3 separate regions of the Homo sapiens genome follow, and all the other regions are linked to region 2. The links are contacts of gene promoters, found by promoter capture Hi-C in human tissues and cell types (Jung and others, 2019). All regions are on one chromosome and are shown on one strand. Each heading gives the region's core, a stretch centred on a gene start or on the middle of the fragment in contact. The rest is flanking DNA. Distances are from core to core; before and after follow the strand shown. Region 1 holds the start of EPHX3 (epoxide hydrolase 3). Region 2 holds the start of CYP4F22 (cytochrome P450 family 4 subfamily F member 22). Region 3 holds the start of CASP14 (caspase 14).

What was found. The method cuts DNA at HindIII sites, captures the fragments that hold promoters and counts their contacts. A contact is called where the count stands out against the background at its distance.
Region 1: the fragment with the promoter of EPHX3 here is called in contact with the fragment with the promoter of CYP4F22 in region 2 in 1 of the 25 tissues and cell types used here (spleen).
Region 3: a contact is called between the fragment with the promoter of CASP14 here and the fragment with the promoter of CYP4F22 in region 2, in 5 of the 25 tissues and cell types used here (dorsolateral prefrontal cortex, liver, mesenchymal stem cells and 2 more).

Annotation. Positions count from the first base shown.
Region 1 is chr19:15,231,002-15,234,266 of GRCh38, reverse strand. EPHX3 (epoxide hydrolase 3) reads left to right here and starts at 1,819. Exons shown (of 7, transcript NM_024794.3): 1 at 1,819-2,298; 2 at 2,406-2,491; 3 at 2,871-3,028; 4 at 3,177-3,265. The coding sequence starts at 2,056. RefSeq lists a silencer at 1,070-1,229 and an enhancer at 1,568-2,069. The HindIII fragment of the contact is 16,546 bases long and covers 1-3,265 here.
Region 2 is chr19:15,506,983-15,510,161 of GRCh38, reverse strand. It overlaps CYP4F22 (cytochrome P450 family 4 subfamily F member 22), which reads right to left and starts at 1,637. Exons shown (of 14, transcript NM_173483.4): 1 at 1,579-1,637. RefSeq lists an enhancer at 1,493-1,993. The HindIII fragment of the contact is 20,579 bases long and covers 1-3,179 here.
Region 3 is chr19:15,048,023-15,050,944 of GRCh38, reverse strand. It overlaps CASP14 (caspase 14), which reads right to left and starts at 1,465. Exons shown (of 7, transcript NM_012114.3): 1 at 1,300-1,465. The HindIII fragment of the contact is 29,360 bases long and covers 1-2,922 here.

The DNA of each region.
Region 1 (3,265 bases), core at 570-3,069, 280 kb after region 2:
CTATTTTACAAGATGTATGTCTTCAGGCAAATGACTTCATCCTCGAATTTCAGGTTCATGATCTATACTACAGGAATGTGATTATGCTACTTAGACTTAATAGGGTTGCTCTATGGTTAAGTGATGGCTGTCCCTAAAATGTTCAAGGATATCGGGAGAAGGTTGCAAAATAGGAGGAAGAAGCTGGCTGCTTTTTTTTTTTTTTTTGAGACGGAGTCTCGCTCTGTCGCCCTGGCTGGAGTGCAGTGGCGCAATCTCAGCTCACTGCAACCTCCGCCTCCTGGGTTCACGCCGTTCTCCTGCCTCAGCCTCCCTAGTAGCTGGGACTACAGGCGCCCGCCACCACGCCTGGCTAATTTTTTGTATTTTTAGTAGAGACAGGGTTTCACCATGTTAGGATGGTCTCGATCTCCTGACCTCGTGATCCGCCCGCCTCGGCCTCCCAAAGTGCTGGGATTACAGGCGTGAGCCACCGCGCCTGGCCAGAAGCTGGCTTCTTGCAGGGACAGCAGGGCCGCAAGGCTCTGTGACTCTAGGCCCCATCACACCCGGCCCTGTCCCACTTCCTCTTTCGGCCAGAACCCCAGAACTCCAGTCATTCATAGGCCGGGTCCTCCTCGGGGGAACCAGGCCTGCCCCCTAGGAATCAGGGTATCCACGCCTCCTCGGCCCGCTCTCGGAGCCTGGGCCTCAACACCTGCAGATTGGCTCCCGGGCCAGGACCTGTCGCTTGAACATCAGTGGCCGCCGCCGTCCAATCACAGACGTACAGGGGCGGGCTGGCGGGCCTGTTGGGCCAGCAGGAGGACGGCGCCGGGCCGAGGCCGCTGGACCCGCCGTTGGAACCACAGCTGGGTGAAGTCAGTGCTGCTAGGTCTTTGGAGCCAGACCGAAGGGAGGGTCGCGCGCCCCTGGGTGGGTAGCACCAGGCGGCGGCCGTCGGCCGGGCCTCCCGAAGCCTCCTCCAGCCGCTAATACCGCCCGCGCCTCCCTCCTAGTCCTAGACCTGGCATTGCCTGTCCCTCTTCTTCGTCTTCCAGACCCTCCTGACCCGCCATATTAGGTCCCGGCCCCGCCCTCCGTCTCATTGCCCATTGCCCACCCCACCCCACCGCCCCCTCCCCGGCCTACCGTCAGCTCATTGGCCCAGGCTCCCGCCTTCTTCGCCCAATGTTAGGCCTCACCTCCTCTAGGATCCACCCTCTCCCCGCCCACCCGCATAAGCCAGGCCCACCATTCCAACTCTTTCTCCTTTTTGGCTTGTAGGCCGCACCTACTCTGCATATGCCCCGCCCCTCACTCCAGGTGTCGCCCACTTAACTGAAGATCCAGGATCCCCTCCTTAAGGTTTGTCTGGGCTCGGAATTGCCTTTTTTTTTTTTCTTTTTTGAGACGGAGTTTCCCTGTTGTGACCCAGGCTGGAGTACAGTGGCGCGATCTCAGCTCACTGCAACCTCCACGTCCCGGGTTCAAGCGATTCTCCTGCCTCAGCCTCCCAAGTAGCTGGGACTACAGGCGCCCGCCACCACGCCCAGCTAATTTTTGTATTTTTAGTAGAGACGGGGTTTCACCACGTTGCCCAGGCTGGTCTCGAGCTCTTGATCTCAGGTGATCCGCCCGCCTCGGCCTACCAAAGTGCTGGGATTACAGGCGTGAGCCACCGCACCCGGCCCGGAATTGCCGCCTTTAGACCCTCACCCACCCGCTGCTGAGTCTTCCTGGGCCCCGCCCCGGCCCTAAGCCCCGCACAGGACCTGCTAGGCCCCGCCCATTTATTTCCCCCCTTTCCAACCTCTTCCTCCCCAGCCTCCGCACCCTACCCTTGTTTCCTGTCCCTGTCGCGCCCAGGTGTTTACCTGGCACTCAGGTGAGTGGTGCGCTCTGGCTGTTTTCTGTCGGAGCCGCCCGCCTCTTCCTTCAGCGCGTCCCACAAATCCCGACGGCACGGAGGGGCCCCAGGCCAAGGGCGATGGGCCCCTGAGCCCTGACACCGCTTCGCCGCTGCTGCAGGTGCCCCTGGCCGGCAGCGCCGCCGTGGTCCCGGAGCGCGGCGACATGCCGGAGCTGGTGGTGACCGCGCTGCTGGCGCCGTCGCGCCTGTCGCTGAAGCTGCTGCGCGCCTTCATGTGGAGCCTGGTGTTCTCGGTGGCGCTGGTGGCCGCGGCGGTCTACGGCTGCATAGCGCTCACGCACGTGCTGTGCCGGCCCCGGCGCGGCTGCTGCGGGCGCCGTCGGAGCGCGTCCCCCGCCTGCCTGAGCGACCCCTCGCTGGGTGAGCACGGTTTCCTGAACCTCAAGGTGATCGCACGGGGGCGCTATCGGGGCTGCGGGGTCGCGTGGGGTCGAGACGGTTCAAGCCTCGGGAGAGAGGGTTCCCCAGGCTTCAGGCTGTGCCCTCCCCCTAGAGCTCGGGCCTGCGTCTGCACTATGTCTCGGCTGGACGAGGTAACGGACCCCTCATGCTGTTTCTGCACGGCTTCCCTGAGAACTGGTACGTCTGGGGCCAGGGGCCTGAGGCCCACGGGACTCGGGGGCAGGTGGAGCTTGGGCTCCCAAGAGGCAGGGAGGAGGGCTGTATAGATCGGGACAAGCTGAACATAGATGGGGATAGGGGTACTGAGCCAGCATACCCAGGATCCCTAGGCCCTGAAGGGACAGGACAAAGGGGTATTGAGGTTGATTGAAGTTCCCTGGATTCAGGGTGTAGCTGGCTTCAGCCTCAGCCTCTGCCTCTGCCTGGGATTCCCCATCCTCCTTTTAGGGGAAGTTTAGAGCAGGAAGGAGGGTTTGCCAATGGTTGCTGATGTGCGTAGGGTGCAGGTGCAACCTGAGGGCCCTGACTCAGCCTCCCTCCCTCGCCCGCCTGGCAGGTTCTCCTGGCGTTACCAGCTCCGGGAGTTCCAGAGCCGCTTCCATGTTGTGGCTGTGGACTTGCGAGGCTATGGCCCCTCGGATGCACCTCGGGATGTGGACTGCTACACAATCGACCTGCTGCTGGTGGACATCAAAGATGTCATCCTAGGCCTGGGTGCAGACATACCCCCATCCTAGGCGTGGCCTCCCTCATCCTGCACACACGCATACCCCCGCTTTCTCCTTGCTGGAACCTACTTCCCCCATCCCTGCTTCAGTCCTACTGGGCACCTCACTTATGCGAGCTCCTTGAATTCCCACAGGTTACTCGAAGTGCATCCTTGTGGCCCATGACTGGGGTGCCCTCCTTGCCTGGCATTTCTCCATCTACTACCCATCCCTGGTCGAGCGG
Region 2 (3,179 bases), core at 388-2,887:
AAAAATACAAAAAGTAGACAGGAGTGGTGGTGCATGCCTGTAGTCCTCCATACTCAGGAGGCTGAGGTAGGAGGATTGCTTGAACCCAGGAGATCGAGGCTGCAGTGAGCTATGATTATGCCACTGCACTCCTGCCTGGGTGACAAAGTGAGACCCTGTCTCAACAACAACAACAAAAAAAGAAAGAAAGAAAGAAAGAGAGAGAGACAGAGAAAAGAAAGAAAGAAAGAAAGAAAGAAGGAAGGAAAGAAAGAAAGGAAGGAAGGAAGGAAGGAAGGAAGGAAGGAAGGAAGGAAGGAAGGAAGGAGAGATGGGTCCCATTCCCTGAATGCCTCTCAAGTCATCCAAGCCCCTCTGCAGATACCAACCTGGGTCACCGCCAGACACCAGGCCAGAGTTAATGTTACTGTTCAGAAACCCAAGCTGGGCCATTTGGTGATGCCGGGGACATCGGAAAGTGGACTGAGGCTTTGGGGTCAAACAGGGCTTGTTTTTTCAAATCCCAGCTCTCCCACTGGGCACTGGGTATCCACAGGCACAGGCTTCTTCTCTCTGGCCCTCAGTTTCCGTGCCTGTAAAATGAGGGTGGTAGGGAAGATTTGGGGAGGTTCCTTCTCTTTGGGGTTTGGAGTTACACAAGAAGGAGTTTGATGCTGCCAGCCCTGGCTGGGCACAGCTCCAGGACCTAGAAATAAGGGGTGGAGCAAGGGGCACAGGGTAGGAGGAATTTCGGGTACGCAGCCAGCCCTGGCCATCTCCTTTGCCTACAGGGCGGTGAGACTCACAATGAGTGCATGAATGAGCTGTGAGCGGGCAGATGAACCAGGAGAGATGCCCTGAGCCTAGGCCTCTCCAGCCTGCGACTCCCCAGGTGGCCAGCCTCGGCCAACTTGCATACCCAGGCTGGGCCAGGCCCCTGGGAGGCCAGAAAACATCTTCCTTCCAGCATCTATCAGACGAAGATCACCTGGGACCAACCCCAGGACCTCACACAACCCTCAGAGCCAACTCTCGGGGCCAGAAGAACACCGTCTTTTCATAGAGGGGCTCTGCGTCTGGCATGGATGGGCAGAGGGTTCCTGATAGCAGTTGAACCACAAGCCTAACCCCATCGGTTGAATGTACTACAACCTCCCCGTCAAGACAACGTGCAGTGGTGAAATCTCAGGGCGAATCCCCATTCAGCCCCAAAGAGGCGTCCCAGGGCGGGGCTTGAACCCATCTGGGATGTCCTGACTACCAGAGGGGTCTTTTGGAGGCCCCCTGCCCATCACAGATACCCAGAGAAAAGGATGCGCCTAGGACTCCGAGGCGCACACAGAAAAAAAAAAAAAGAAAACAACTCACAAATGCAGCAAACGTCGGGGACACACCCACGTGCCCCTCTCCCCACGAGTGCCCCGGGCATGCAGCCCCGTCCTGGGTCCTGGGGGGGTCCCCGTGGCCGGCTGCGCCCCGCCCGCCGCCGCGCGCAGACCTTCGCCCTTGCCCCGCCAGCACCGAACCGCGCGAGCCTCGGGTTCCAGCGCAGCGCCGCGGCCGCGCTCAGGTTACAGCCCTCACCACGCGCGCACTCACCCGCGGGTCTCAGCCTCCTGCCCTCGATCCGGATCCACCGGCGCCACTACCTGGGATCTGACCGCGCCGTCCCACGGCCCAACCCTTTAACCCCGCCCGGCCGTGCCGAGGGGTCCGCCCCCGGACATCCCGCCCCGGGCTCCCGCAGGGTTCTGGGCGGGGACTCCAGCGCTGCCCCCTAGAAAAGGAGAGAACAAGAAATAGGCGTGTGGAGGGGTGGAGAGCGATGGAAAGAGAGAGAGACTGAGACTGAGATGGAGAGATGAAGAGAGACAGAGACTTGGACACCTAGAAGTCCCAAACCATCAGGCTCCCCGCCCTCCTGCCACTGCTGGGCCGCATTAGCGCCCAAGTCCCGCTCTGGACCACACTCCTCCCACACCAACACCCCCCATGGCCCTTACTTCCAGGTTTGCTCCCAAGCTTGGACAGCGATCTCTAAACCATCACCCCCTGGGGCCCCACTGACCCCCCCGAGAAGCCTCCTCTGGGGCCCTCAGGAATTCTCTGGCTCCACCAGCCCTTGGGAACCAGCCCTTCCCCTCTCTCTGGATCCTGGGCCTAAGCTTCCCCGGCACCCACCCCTGGAGGCTCTGCAGCCTCTTCCTCCAGGAAGACCTCCAACCTCAACAAGCAGCACCAGACTGGTTCTGCTCCCCGCCAACCCGCCCTCCGCCACTCCTCCCCACCCACTGCCAGACACCTTGACCCTCTGACCAGGATGTTGTCCTTGGCCAACCCGTCTACTCCAGATGTGTGGAGACAGAGTCAGCTCCGCCTCTGGATGTGTCTGTCCTCCGGAGTCGGTGGGTGGATGTGTGGCTGACCTTAGCACGTGGGCAGACAGATGAGAAGACAAGAATCTCCACTTGCCCCAGCAGGTGGTAAACTTAGAAGACTTCCTTATCCCTCTTTTTTCTAAGAATACGCTCTCATTTGGTGCTGGGCCCTTGGAAAGAGGGCGTGGGAGGTGTGGGGCATGTCTCCTGGTGAAGAAGAGGAGACACAAGTAATTGAAGTTTTGCTGCTTGGAGGAGGCAGACATGAGGTCAGGGAAGGCGACGTGGAGGATGTGACACTTGAGCTGGGACTGCATGGAGAGGTTGGATTTCAACAAGTGCAGGAGAGGGGGTAGAGCTCAAGCACAGAGAAACTGGAGGGTGTGACTTAGCAGATGGCTTTCCCTGGCCTTGGAGTGTGAGAGGTGTGGAGGCTGGAGGGATGCAGGAGTTGACTGTGAAGGCCAGTTTGAATGGCTGGATCTTGATCTGGTGGGCAGTGGGGAGCCATGGATGGTGCTTGAGTAGGGGAGGTGCCCCCTGTTAGTTGATTGGTCTCACTCTGTCATCCAGGCTGGGGTGACTCCTGGGCTCAAGCCATCCTCCTGCCTCAGCCTCCTGGGTAGTTGGGACTACAGACACGTGCCACCACACCCAGCTAATTTTTTTTTTTCATTTTTTTAGAGACAGGGTCTCACTATGTTGCCCAGGCTGGTCTCAAACTCCTGGGCTCAAGCCATTCTCCCAGCTCCTAGAACTTTTAAAAAAAAATATTTATATTTATTTGTGTCTTTAATCTTTTTTACTTCTGAGGAAGAGCTT
Region 3 (2,922 bases), core at 216-2,715, 460 kb after region 2:
CATCTATCTAGTCATCCATCAATCCAATTTAACATCCATCCTTTTATTCATCAACCCATCCACCAATTTATCTTTCCACTTACCTATCTATCCACTCATCCATCCATCCATCCACCCACTCACACATCTATTCATCCGTCTGTCTACCCATCTATTAATCAGTCATCCCATATACCCATTCATTCTTCCATCAACCCATTTATCTACCCATCCATCTATCTATCCATCCACTTATTCATCCAACCACTCATTCATTCATCCATCCATCCATCCATTCATCCATTATCTCTCTCTGTCTTCCATCCCTCCATCTATTCTATCTTCCAACTATCCCTCCATCTAGCCCTCCTTCTATCCATTCCTTCATCCATCATCTCTATCTTCCATCTATCCATCCACCTATTTACTTATCCATCTACCCACCCACCCATCCATCCATCCATCCATCAATCCATCCACCCACCCACCCACCTACCCAGCAAATATTTTCTGGGTATCTATTATGTGTTATGCACTTAGAATCCATTAAGTAAGACAGACATGCTCCCTGACTTTCTGTCCTTCTGTAGCTCTAGTCTGTGACAGAAATGAATATTAAATCTCTCTCTCTCTCTCTCTCTCTCACACACACACACTCACACACACACACAGCAAGTGCTGTGACGAAAGAGGAGCCAAAGATTGTGAGGGAGGAAGTGGAAGGAGCATAGCCCTGGAGCCAGAACCGAATCCTGCCTCAGTCCCTTCCCAGCTGTGTGACCTTCGGCATCTCACTCTCCTCTCTGAGACTCGATTTTCCCATCCGCAAAGGACCTGGGGAGAGCTCTAGGTGCTTAACAGCAATGGTGACCCAGGTAGGTTTTAGGATCCCTCTTGACCTCCTGGAACTTTCCTCTTCCTTCTCTGGACTCTCACAGCTCTGCTTGCTCCTACTTGAATTACAGCAGTGTTTTTGATTCTTACTCTCATGGCTGAACTGGCAGCTCAGTTTTCAGGACTGAAAGCCTGACTTCATTATCTCTGTCTCCATCATGGCCAACAGTGTGGCAGGGAGCACAGAGGTGGTGTTGGAGAGAATTTGCTGAGTAAACAAATAAGAAAAAAATGAACAGATGAAAAGAAAGAGGGGATGGATGGAAATTTCTTCCATTCTGCCAAAACTGGCCAGAGCATTAATTCATGAAGGGAGAGGGAGCGTATGTGTGTATGTGCGTGTGTGTGTGTGTGTGTGTGTGTGTGTGTGTGTGAGAGAGAGAGAGAGAGAGAGAGAGAGAGGCTAATATCCACCAAATCACTTACCAACTCTAGAGGCAGCTGTTCCTCAAGGCCAAGTTCAATCTCACTACTCTCCTAGTTGCCAATACTGAGCTGGGCACCGAGGAGGAGTCAGGCCCACGTACTGATCTTGGAGAAGGGGCTGACAGTGTGGAATCTCCCGGGGTTTCTCCTGAGAAGCCTGGTCTATGAATCGGGTGGCACAATCACCTGGCCCTTTATTGTCGGTGAGTTTTCTGTCACTCAAGAAACCTCATGACACACCCTTGGCACACAGCTGTGGTGTGGAAATGGAGCCAACGCCAATGGGATGAGTGATCGCAAGGCTGAGGGGACTCCCTCTGGCAAAGGTGGCCTAGGCAGAGAGTCTAAATGAGTCAGATGTCTGTGCCAGCCCAGCCACAACCTCTCCCAACCCCCATCCCATAGCCAGCCCATCTGGTTATTACCATCATCATTATGCCTAGTTTATTCATCTCACCTTCCACTGTGTAGATAACACCGACTTCACTTAGTTATTATCTCATCGAGTCTTCAAGAGTCTAGACAGATCAGTATTTTTGCTCCCATTTTGCAGATGGAGAAACTGAGGCTCATAGAGGTGAAATGACTGCCCAAGGTCAGCAATTGGCACAGTTGGCATTCAACCCTATAAGGGGTGAGGTGTGGTGGGTCACGTCTGTAGTCCCAGCGCTTTGGGAGGCCAAGGCAGGAGGATCGCTTGAGGTGAGGAGTTTGAGACCAGCCGGGGCATAGTGAGACCCTGTCACTAAAATAATAATAATAATAAAAATGATGGCATATACCTATAGTCCTAGCTACTCAGGAGGCTGAGGTAGGAGGCTGGCTTGAGCCTAGGAGTTTGAGGCTGCAGCGAGCTAAGATTGTGCCTCTGCACTCCAGCCTGGGTGACAGAGCAAGACTCTGTCTTAAATATAAAAACAAACAAACAACCCCTAAAATGTTCCAGCCCAGTTGCCTTAACTGATGCATCATGATGATTCCTCTCTTCCTCCTCCTCTTATTATTTTTCAGCCATTTTGTTTCATTTTATTTCTTATGTTAATAGTGAAACCAAAGGCGAACCTGATTAAGCCCTCCAGACTTAATCTGCCTTGCGTTTAATTGCTTACTTACTTTTAATTGCTTACTTATAGTTGATCTTAAAAGCGCCACTAGCAAGTCACGTAGCCAAATAATGCATAACTAAACTCCCACTGGCTTCCTTACAGATAACATTTTTGTCTGTGGGACACTATAGTAATGGGTGCTTAAAGTTGTTTTTCAGGAACTAGGTAGGAGGCAGCTCTTGTTTAGTTTAAGCCAGTGGAGATCACTGACCCTTCAACTGCACCTATGTGGGTAGCTGATATCAGAGGGCCGTAAACTCCACCTTCAGATCATGCTAAATGCTATTTTTTGCACAAATGTCCTATCTAAAGCCATGTAGCTCAACCATGCTTGCTCAGAAATTCTGATTACCTCACCTTCCCTACCTGCCAGTCACCTTTCTCCGTACTTTAGATCACCCCGTTTTCTATCCCATAAGCACCCTCAAACCCTATTTTTGGGGAGGAGAATTTGAGACCTGTTTTACCACCTCGTCGCTTAATTGCCTCATGAACGAACTCTTCCTCTTCTGCAAAA